Regions from separate parts of the Homo sapiens genome. Here all the other regions are linked to region 2. The links are contacts of gene promoters, found by promoter capture Hi-C in blood cells and fetal thymus (Javierre and others, 2016). All regions are on one chromosome and are shown on one strand. Each heading gives the region's core, a stretch centred on a gene start or on the middle of the fragment in contact. The rest is flanking DNA. Distances are from core to core; before and after follow the strand shown.

Region 1 (2,848 bases), core at 162-2,661, 300 kb after region 2:
TTCAAAATAAAAGTTCCTTCTTTGTTATCTGTCCTAGTAAGTGAATGGAGTTCTGGCTTATTCTACAGAACATACAGGAATTACCAATGTCAGAAACTTAGGATATAGCAAAATACAGTCAGTGCTAAAACTACTGAGTATAATTTAATTCTTTTGATGCATAAGGCATTTTTAGGGACTTGGGTGATCCACACAAATGAATTTTCCTGAAAATTGAAATAAACCTATTACTGCAAAAATATTTTTAAAAATAAAAGTAGTAAATGCTTAAGGACAAAAATTCTAAAAATTCAGAGTACCGAAGGTACAAAGTGAAAGGTACAACTGACCTTTCCAAATCCCCAATTTCTACTATTAACAGTTTCTTGTATATCTATACAGAAAATTTATCTGCATATTCAGCTCTGTGTATAATTTTATTTTTTTCACAAATGGGATCATACTATAGTGGAATTACAGGGGATAAAATAATATTCATTTTATATTTTAATAGTTACAGCTAAATTGCCCTTTTATTAAATGGTACATTCTCAGTAGTTATTTGAGAATAACTTCCTCAATGCTTCTTATAATATATCCCATTGTTTTGTAAACTTGCTTTATTTTTCGTCATAAGTGAGGCTGTGCATCTTTTATGTGTTTATTGGTTGCTTCTGCTTTTCCTTCTTGTAAAATGCCTGTTGAGAACTGAATTATTTTCCCCTCTGGTAAAATGCCTCCAAATTGAACACAGAACATTAACGATGTATTTTTACAGCTACATTTTTACAATTAGACTCCATTAAAGGTGATTGTTCAACAACTAATAGTTTAAAATCTTGAGATTCTTTTTCATTTTTTAAAATATAATACATTGTCACACCAATGTCTAATACCAAGATGATGACATTTGGTGTTAACAGTTGTACTTTACCCAGTCTTTAGTCTAATTTGAACCTCATCCAAGTTTGGAAAATTCCTGAAGTGGAAAGTACCAACAATAAAAAGGGGTTTTGTGATAGTTGACTTCCCAGTCACTCCCAGCTCCGTCCAGACAGTACATACTTTCCTCCCACTTTGCTGATAAATAACCTTGGAAATAAATTTATACCCATGGGTATAATTCTATGAGTTTAGTGATCCTGCCTCTTTTTGTTATCTATACAGTTTCTATCATACTATGGCTGCTTAGGAAGTGTCTAAGAAAAACAACAATAATGCTGGTATTTGATTTGTCAGTTGTGGCTTGGGGCATCAGTGGGACATAGAGCAGAATTCTTGCTGAGGAATATGATCCTCACTTGATTCTAATTTTATCTTTGTGGTGAAGCTTTTAAATATGAGGACAGCTGATGTTGAATAAGTCTGTCCTCACAAGCTGTATGAGATTGAAATAAAATTAAATATTTGGGGTTAAATCCAAATGTAAAGATGTGGAAATGGCTGATTAGTCTTTTGATATTTCACTTTCTGCATCTTGGTAAAAAGGAACTGTTTGTTGTGAACTCCTAGCAACAGTCCAGTTTGAAGCTTATGATAAGCTAAATGTGTGCCTTAACTTAAGGTCTAACATTTTATAAAAGATGAAGTAGAGTTCCTACTTTTCACCCCAACCTCCACCCTGCTGATAAAATGATAGGCTATGCATACCTGATTTTGTTAGCGGCCTCTCTTTCTTTGTTTTTCTCCCTGAATAAAAGGTTTCTACTAATGAAATAGTGAGGCCCACACTTACACTTGGATTGGGGTAATGATCCTGTGTGGTCTTTGTAAGTTTGCAAATGATGAGACCCCAAACTCCTAGTAGATTCTTACCTAGGTGACTAAATGTATTGCTAATTGCTAAGGAATAAATAAATGGGTGTGCTCCAAGAATAGATTGCTGGCTCTTCTTCAGCTGACTGGATTACTAAGGTAGAAAAGCACTAAAAATAAATCAGGGCACAAATTCTTCTGCCAGGAACTGAGCATTGAGATAACTTGTCTGCCTGGTGGTGTTGACATCATCTGTTCTCCTAATGCACTGCATAAATAGGAGCCAGAATGAGAAATAGATTTGGCCATAAACTAGTGTCAGTAAAAGTCCTTAGCCCTTGTCCTGATATACCTATTGCTGCTTCTTGCCAGGTTTAAGTTAGTTAGTCCATCCAACTCCTCTAGGAGATAGCTAAGTACATCAAGGTGAGAACTCAAAACCAAACTCAGAGTCAATCTCAGGGGAAATAATTTGATTTCTTCTAGCTTCAAATATATTTTTGCTAGTTCTCTTCTGTCAGTTGGGTTTCAGTGTTTCCCCCAAGGGGTCAGATTTTAACAGAGTTGGAAAGGTGGGAAGGCATCTCAGGAAATCAGTTCTCTAGGACCTGAAGATTGCACCGTGATCCAGGTTCCCTGATGTGGAGTTAAGGATTCTTATCACTGAATTCCTCTTCTGTTATTACTTCAAATGTCCTGAGCAGAAAGCCTTAGCCAGTTATAATTAACCTATGGATCTCATGTGAACTAAAATGGGAGGAAATCCATGCAAATCCCTACCTTCTTTATATCTGAACCTACTTTCTTTTAGTTTTAGAGCAAGTTGCATTTAACTGGAATAATACTGTCTCACACTGATTAAGTCCTTGATGCTCACAAAATGCTTTCACACATTTATCTTGTGATCACAACAAGCCTGTAAGGAAGGCAGATGTTCTTATCCTCTTATTAACTGCTAGACTCAGAGAAGCCAACAGATTGAGACTCTGGCAGCAGTTGTTGCTAAGATCCCTGGGAGCTCTGTGATTTCATAGTCCATATAGTCAGCAGTGAACAGTCGGATCCATTTCTCTGGGGAAAGTTTGGGAAGTTTGTTCTGTTTGTTTAAATAAAG
Region 2 (2,844 bases), core at 71-2,570:
TATGGCTGTGGAGATGCGGCAAGAAGTCCTGGAGCAGATTCAGGTACTGTATGCAGATACCTGTAGCCTCTGGAATCTTGATTTCAGAACGCCTATGAGAATAAAGGTGATTTCGAGGTGACTGTGTTCTCAGAGTTTATTTTTAAAGGTGATTAAGGCCCTGAAGGATTGATAATGTGCCTGCTGGTTTGGAAAACCCTGAGCCTCAGTAAGTCCAGCTCTGATAGTGAAGTAGTCTAGGAATGCAGGCAGCAGTGAAGAGCTCTCAAGAGAGCTGAGGATAGACAAGTAATGGGAATTCCCGCTTCCAGAGCCTCAAGTCAAGGGCTAAACTCCAAAGAGGCTGGAGTCACTGTGTATTTTTTGGTTGCTTCATCTGTTGTTATTAATGTACGTTCACACTTTCCCATCTTTAGGGGATAAGATATAGTAGCTAGAAGACATTTGTGGGTTTCTTTTCTGGGTAGCATCATACTTTAAAGAAAAAAGTATAGTTGAGTCTATTTGCCAAAAAAATAAACTTGCAATACTTTAGTGTTTAAGGTTCATAATAGCTTGCTATGTGTTCCTTAACCCTTTAGGTACTGAATATCTGGTTAGACAAAAGAAAAGGCTCAAGTAGTCTGGAAGGAGAACCAGCTAACCCAGTGGATGATGGAAAACCTGTTTTCTAACCTGGAGCTGCTATCCTGACTTTTTCTAGAGTTTGAATCTCTCCCGGAACTCTGACCTAGAGAGGATCCTGGTACTTCTTTGCCATGTCCTCATTTTCTTTTCCAACAAGAATAATACCTTAACTCACAACCAACGAGTCAAAGATGCATGTGGACATAATATAAAGAAAAAAAGGGGAAGCTGAGGTTTGGATTTATGCCATAAATGTTGCCCACATCTTTGTTCCATCGGCTTGATTTAAAGACAATTCCATTAGATCTTTTCTAAGCCTTTTACTCTATAAATAAATGTATTTACACAATAGGAATATTGCTTTTTAATGACTAGATAAGCTGGGCATAGAGGGCACAGCATCATCTGGTGAAACGAAGGTATCTGACACGGGTCATTTACATATACCGCCTGGAAAGGAATGGTTGGGGGAGGGGTTCTTATCATTTATAGAGTAGGGATAATTGAAGCATCCTTCAAACGGGAAGAAGGATGAAATAAGATAAATTATGAGTAAAATGTCAGAAAACATCTAGTGCTCTAAGATTCACAAGGAGAATAAAAGTGACTGGCTGGCTCCCTTTGGTTAAAACGAACTGGCCAGAAGCTGCAAGGTTCCTTGCTGGGATTGGCTCTCTGCAGCCACCGTCCCCACGCTGGGGCTTCAGGTCTCCTAGCAACAAGTTGTACCATATGAGGACGGCCGCTGAGGTGAGTACTTAGAGAGGGTCAAATTCAGAATTTGCAGGTGCAACCCGGAAAGTCCCCGCGGACCTAGAGGCCCTGCTTTTCAATTAGCCTGACCCTATGCACAGAGAGGTCCCTGCGGGACAGGGTCGCTTCACAGAGGCAGCTGGCCGAGGCCGCTCACCCGCCGCTGTAATGGTGTGTGGTTGCCCACCAGCCACCGTCCCCTCGAGCCCCCACCACCCGCTCTACCGCCCCCTCGAGCCCCCACCACCCGCCCCACCGCCCTCTGCTGCCTGGGGCTGTTGCTGGTTCCAGGCCTTCGGGTCGCCCCTTGGCCTCTGGTTATGTGAGCCCATAGTCCTTCCTGCCTTGGTGACATCGTATACGAAAAGCCGGGGCTCGATTTGGACATAGTAGGAATCCTATTATTGAGACCCTGTATATAGAAAAACATGGCAGTTTCTACCTTCATCAGTTAATAAAATCAAGTACCTACTATTGCTATTCTTAATCATAATTACATTGAATTTGCGATGGGGGTGGGGGGAAATGCATGTCATTGCAGTTGATACCTGTTAAGAAACTCTTAATTTGTGCCCTGAAAAGCCATAATGGAGATATCAATGCCTCCACCTCAGATATATGTAGAAAAAACTCTGGCCATTATCAAACCAGATATTGTTGACAAAGAGGAGGAGATACAAGATATTATTCTTAGATCCGGATTCACCATTGTTCAGGTAACTTCTGGGTATGATGATTCATGCTTTTTTCCTCTCTGCCCTTAAAAAAAAAATGCTTATGTAAATGTGCCTACCCATTTAAACCCTTAGTGTTCAGCATTAAATTTAAGTTTATTCTTCTAAGTATAAAAGTTATATGTGATAGTTTTTAAAAGGATGTAAAATGAGAAATAAAATGGACTTTTCCTTCACCTGTCCTCTTTTACCCCAAGTCCCAGGCTCCAGAGAGAGGCAACCACTTAACACTTTCTGTTCTTCCAGGAGTTTTCTATGCATTTATAAACATTTTCCCCCCATAAAACAGAACAGTCCCTTTCCCTTGACCCCTTTACAGAGTCCCTCAGATAGGATTCCAGATCATTGCATCTGAATTGATCTCACTCTTCCTAATTTCTGTGTAATATTTCCCTGTGTATTAGAACTACAATTTATTTACTTGATCTTCTATTGATGGAATTTTAGGCTATTGGTACTTTTTTCAGTTATGGCATAACATTTAATGTTTTAAGCCTTATGTTCTGCAATTAGTAAACATTGTCATTCTAGGGGTTTGAAAGTGAATATAAATAGCATTGTTAAGGATAAATCAAATAGAATTGAATATTTTTAATCTTCCTCTTTTATAGTTTTTTTTTCTTTTTTTTGAGACAGAGTCTCCCTCTGTAGCCCAGACTGGAGTGCAGTGGTACGATCTCGGCTCACTGCAACCTCTGCCTTCCAGGTCCCGGTTCAAGCAATTCTCCTG
Region 3 (2,857 bases), core at 274-2,773, 270 kb after region 2:
AGGAGTTCTTGGTATGGGCTTAGCATTTGCAGTTTGGGATGGCTTTGCATTTATAGGTTGGCCAGCTGAGGACTGTTGATAGCTTTAAAAAGGAAAAAGAAAAGATTTTTAAAAAGAAGGTCTTGGCCTCATTTTGCAAATTACCTTTAGATATGTTGAGTTTACCACTTAGTACTACTAGTATTATTAAAAACAAATTGCCCTAATAACAGTCAAGAAATATTTTATAAGAATGGTTACTATCTTTTTTTTTTCCTTTTGGCAAATGGAAATTAAGTGTCAGGAGGAAGAATTTAGATTAGACATAAGGAGGATGTCCTTCCTTGAAGATATTCCCTAAGGAATGTGAGAGTAAGTCTAGTTAGTGGCAGCTTGAGAGCTCTTCCAATCTTATGAGTAATTTCTTTAATAAAATTTTTTTTTAGATTCTGGGAGTACATGTGCATGTTTGTTACATGGGTATATTGTATGATGCTGGGGTTTGGCCTTCTAATGATTCTGTCACCCAAGAGGTGAACATAGTACCTGATAGTTAGTTTTTGAACCCTTTTCCACCTCTTTCCCTGCTTTCGGGATCTCCAGTGTTTATTGTTTTCATCTTTGTGTTCATATGTACCCAATGTTTAGCTCCCACTTATAAATGAGAACATGCTCTATTTTATTTTCTGTTTCTGTGTTAGTTTGCTTAGGATAGTGGCCTCAAGCTGCATCCGTGTTGCTGCAAAGGACGTAATTTTGTTCTTTGTTATAGCTACGATGACCGAATTTCTTGTTTGATTTATGGGTAGATATTAAGTGGTGGTATTCTGGAGCTGGTTCATATGGGCTGATTTTTAGCATCTTTTCCCAGCTTCCTATGATTTCATGTTATAGTTTGAAATTGGTTGTGGTGGAAATATTTACACCAGGGAAATCGGTAAATATCACAAATAATGGCTCTTTTGTCCAGTGATTGTTAGACATTTACCAGCACACCACTGGCTTTTAGTGAATAATCTTTTGCTTTGAATGGAGTCTACACAGTCATTGACTTTCCTGTAATTTCCAATTCCTATTAATTTCATATTCTAGAAAATCCAAGTATGGCACTATATAACAGCAAATAACTTCTAAAGTAATGACAGTTTCTTCAATACTACTGAAGTGATTTTTAGAGAAAAAATGGGATGATTTGAGGAAGGAGAAAGAAATGTAAACTGGAAAAAAGCAAATAAAGTCTTTATTTCAAATTTTGATCCTAAATTTTTTCTATGATGTCCTTGCCCCTCCCGTATTTCCCTTGTTGATTCTGATAGAGGATAGGGTGGTATTTAGAGAGTCCTGTATTTTTAGATCTGTTAGGTAGCTTAAATGTATCACAGTGCTTTATTCAGTTTTTACCTAGTTTATCCATTCAGAGCCCTGCAGGGGCTAATCTTTATTTTTAATTTTTATTTATTTTTTTGAGATGGAGTCCCGCTCTGTTGCCCAGGCTGGAGTGCAGTGGCGCGATCTCGGCTCACTGCAACCTCTGCCTCCCGGGTTCAGGTGATTCTCCTGTCTCAGCCTCCCAAGTAGCTGGGATTACAGGCACCCGCCACCATGCTCAGCTAATTTTTGAATTTTTAGTAGAGACGGGGTTTTGCCATGTTGGCCAGGCTGGTCTCAAACTGCTGACCTCTGGTAATCTGCCTGCCTGGGCCTCCCAAAGTTCTGGGATTACAGGCTTGAGCCACCGCACCCGGCCTGCAGGGACTAATCTTTATTAATCTATTTAATGTGAGGAAACTAGCCACTGCCCTCAATGAGTATTTTACCATTATTATAATAAATGTTCTCTGGCTATCCAGATGAGACAATCTTGGTCTCTTCTCTGAAATGATCCTTTCCAAATATTCTCAAGGATCATTAAAAGGACTTGTGAGCTAAGTATAAATGTATTTCCTCCAAGTAGGGCCAGAGTTTTAATTTTTACTGGCTTTGGGAACTTGGTTAGTAATCATTAGATTGTAAACATTCTGGAGAAAAAATATGTCTTATTTGTTATCATTATATCATTTATATCCACGAACACAGAGCATGGGTATAGGAGATACTATCAGTTGAGTGAATGAGTGATTTTCATAGTATTCAGGACACTCTATTGAAAGCTAATGATACACATTTCCTCTCCTGACATTTCAGGTCTTAAGATCTTTATGGTTGTCTATATAAATTTTTAAAGTCTGATTTGTTCAGTTAATAGCCAAACAAAATGTTTTTTAAAATAGCGATTTTTTTTTTAAAGATTGAATTCCTAGATCAAAGTGTCAAAATCTCTTTGGCCTTATAGATCTCATATTTTTTCAATCGTATAGAATTATAATAGACCACTTTTTTTTTTTTGAGACGGAGTTTCATTCTTGTTGTCCAGGCTGGAGTGCAATGGCATGGACTTGGCTCACTGCAACCTCTGCCTCTCTCTATGTCTCCCGGGTTTAAGCGATTCTCATGCCTCAGCCTCCCAGGTAGCTGGGATTATAGGTGCCTGCCACAACACCCTGCTAATTTTTTTGTATTTTTTTTTTAGTAGAGACAGGGTTTCACCATGTTGGCCAGGCTGGTCTCAAACTCCTGACCTTGGGTGATCCATCCACCTTGGCCTCCCAAAGTGCTGGGATTACAGGTGTGAGCCACACCTGGCCTAGCCTACTGTTTTTTTTTTTTTTAAAAATGCTAGCTTATCATCTTTATAAGTCACACATTTGTTAATGTGAATTAGCATTAAATAATTGTTTTTAGACTTGTCATATCTGGGAAATTCTGAATATATCTGAGAAGTCCTGAAGGATTATCAAAACCAATCCTGAGAATCACTGATGTATATGTAACCTCAGTC

Evidence for each region. Contacts are between HindIII fragments. The CHiCAGO score rates a contact against its expected background, and 5 or more counts as called.
Region 1: a contact is called between a fragment that was not itself captured here and the fragment with the promoter of NME5 in region 2, in 1 of 17 cell types (total B cells). The highest score is 5.8, in total B cells.
Region 3: a fragment that was not itself captured here is called in contact with the fragment with the promoter of NME5 in region 2 in 1 of 17 cell types (M2 macrophages); the score reaches 5.7 in M2 macrophages.

Annotation. Positions count from the first base shown.
Region 1 is chr5:137,836,330-137,839,177 of GRCh38, reverse strand. No RefSeq gene overlaps it. Among named protein-coding and RNA genes, the nearest start is that of MYOT, 30 kb to the left of the region's middle. The HindIII fragment of the contact is 200 bases long and covers 1,312-1,511 here.
Region 2 is chr5:138,137,904-138,140,747 of GRCh38, reverse strand. It overlaps NME5 (NME/NM23 family member 5), which reads left to right and starts at 1,320. Exons shown (of 6, transcript NM_003551.3): 1 at 1,320-1,377; 2 at 1,963-2,096. The coding sequence starts at 1,968. BRD8 (bromodomain containing 8) reads left to right here. Exons shown (of 27, transcript NM_139199.2): 26 at 1-43; 27 at 582-978. The coding sequence ends at 674. The HindIII fragment of the contact is 15,003 bases long and covers 1-2,844 here.
Region 3 is chr5:137,873,054-137,875,910 of GRCh38, reverse strand. MYOT (myotilin) reads right to left here. Exons shown (of 10, transcript NM_006790.3): 3 at 1-82. The region is part of intron 2 of PKD2L2-DT (PKD2L2 divergent transcript); the gene reads left to right. Among named protein-coding and RNA genes, the nearest start is that of MYOT, 6.6 kb to the right of the region's middle. The HindIII fragment of the contact is 3,098 bases long and covers 1-2,857 here.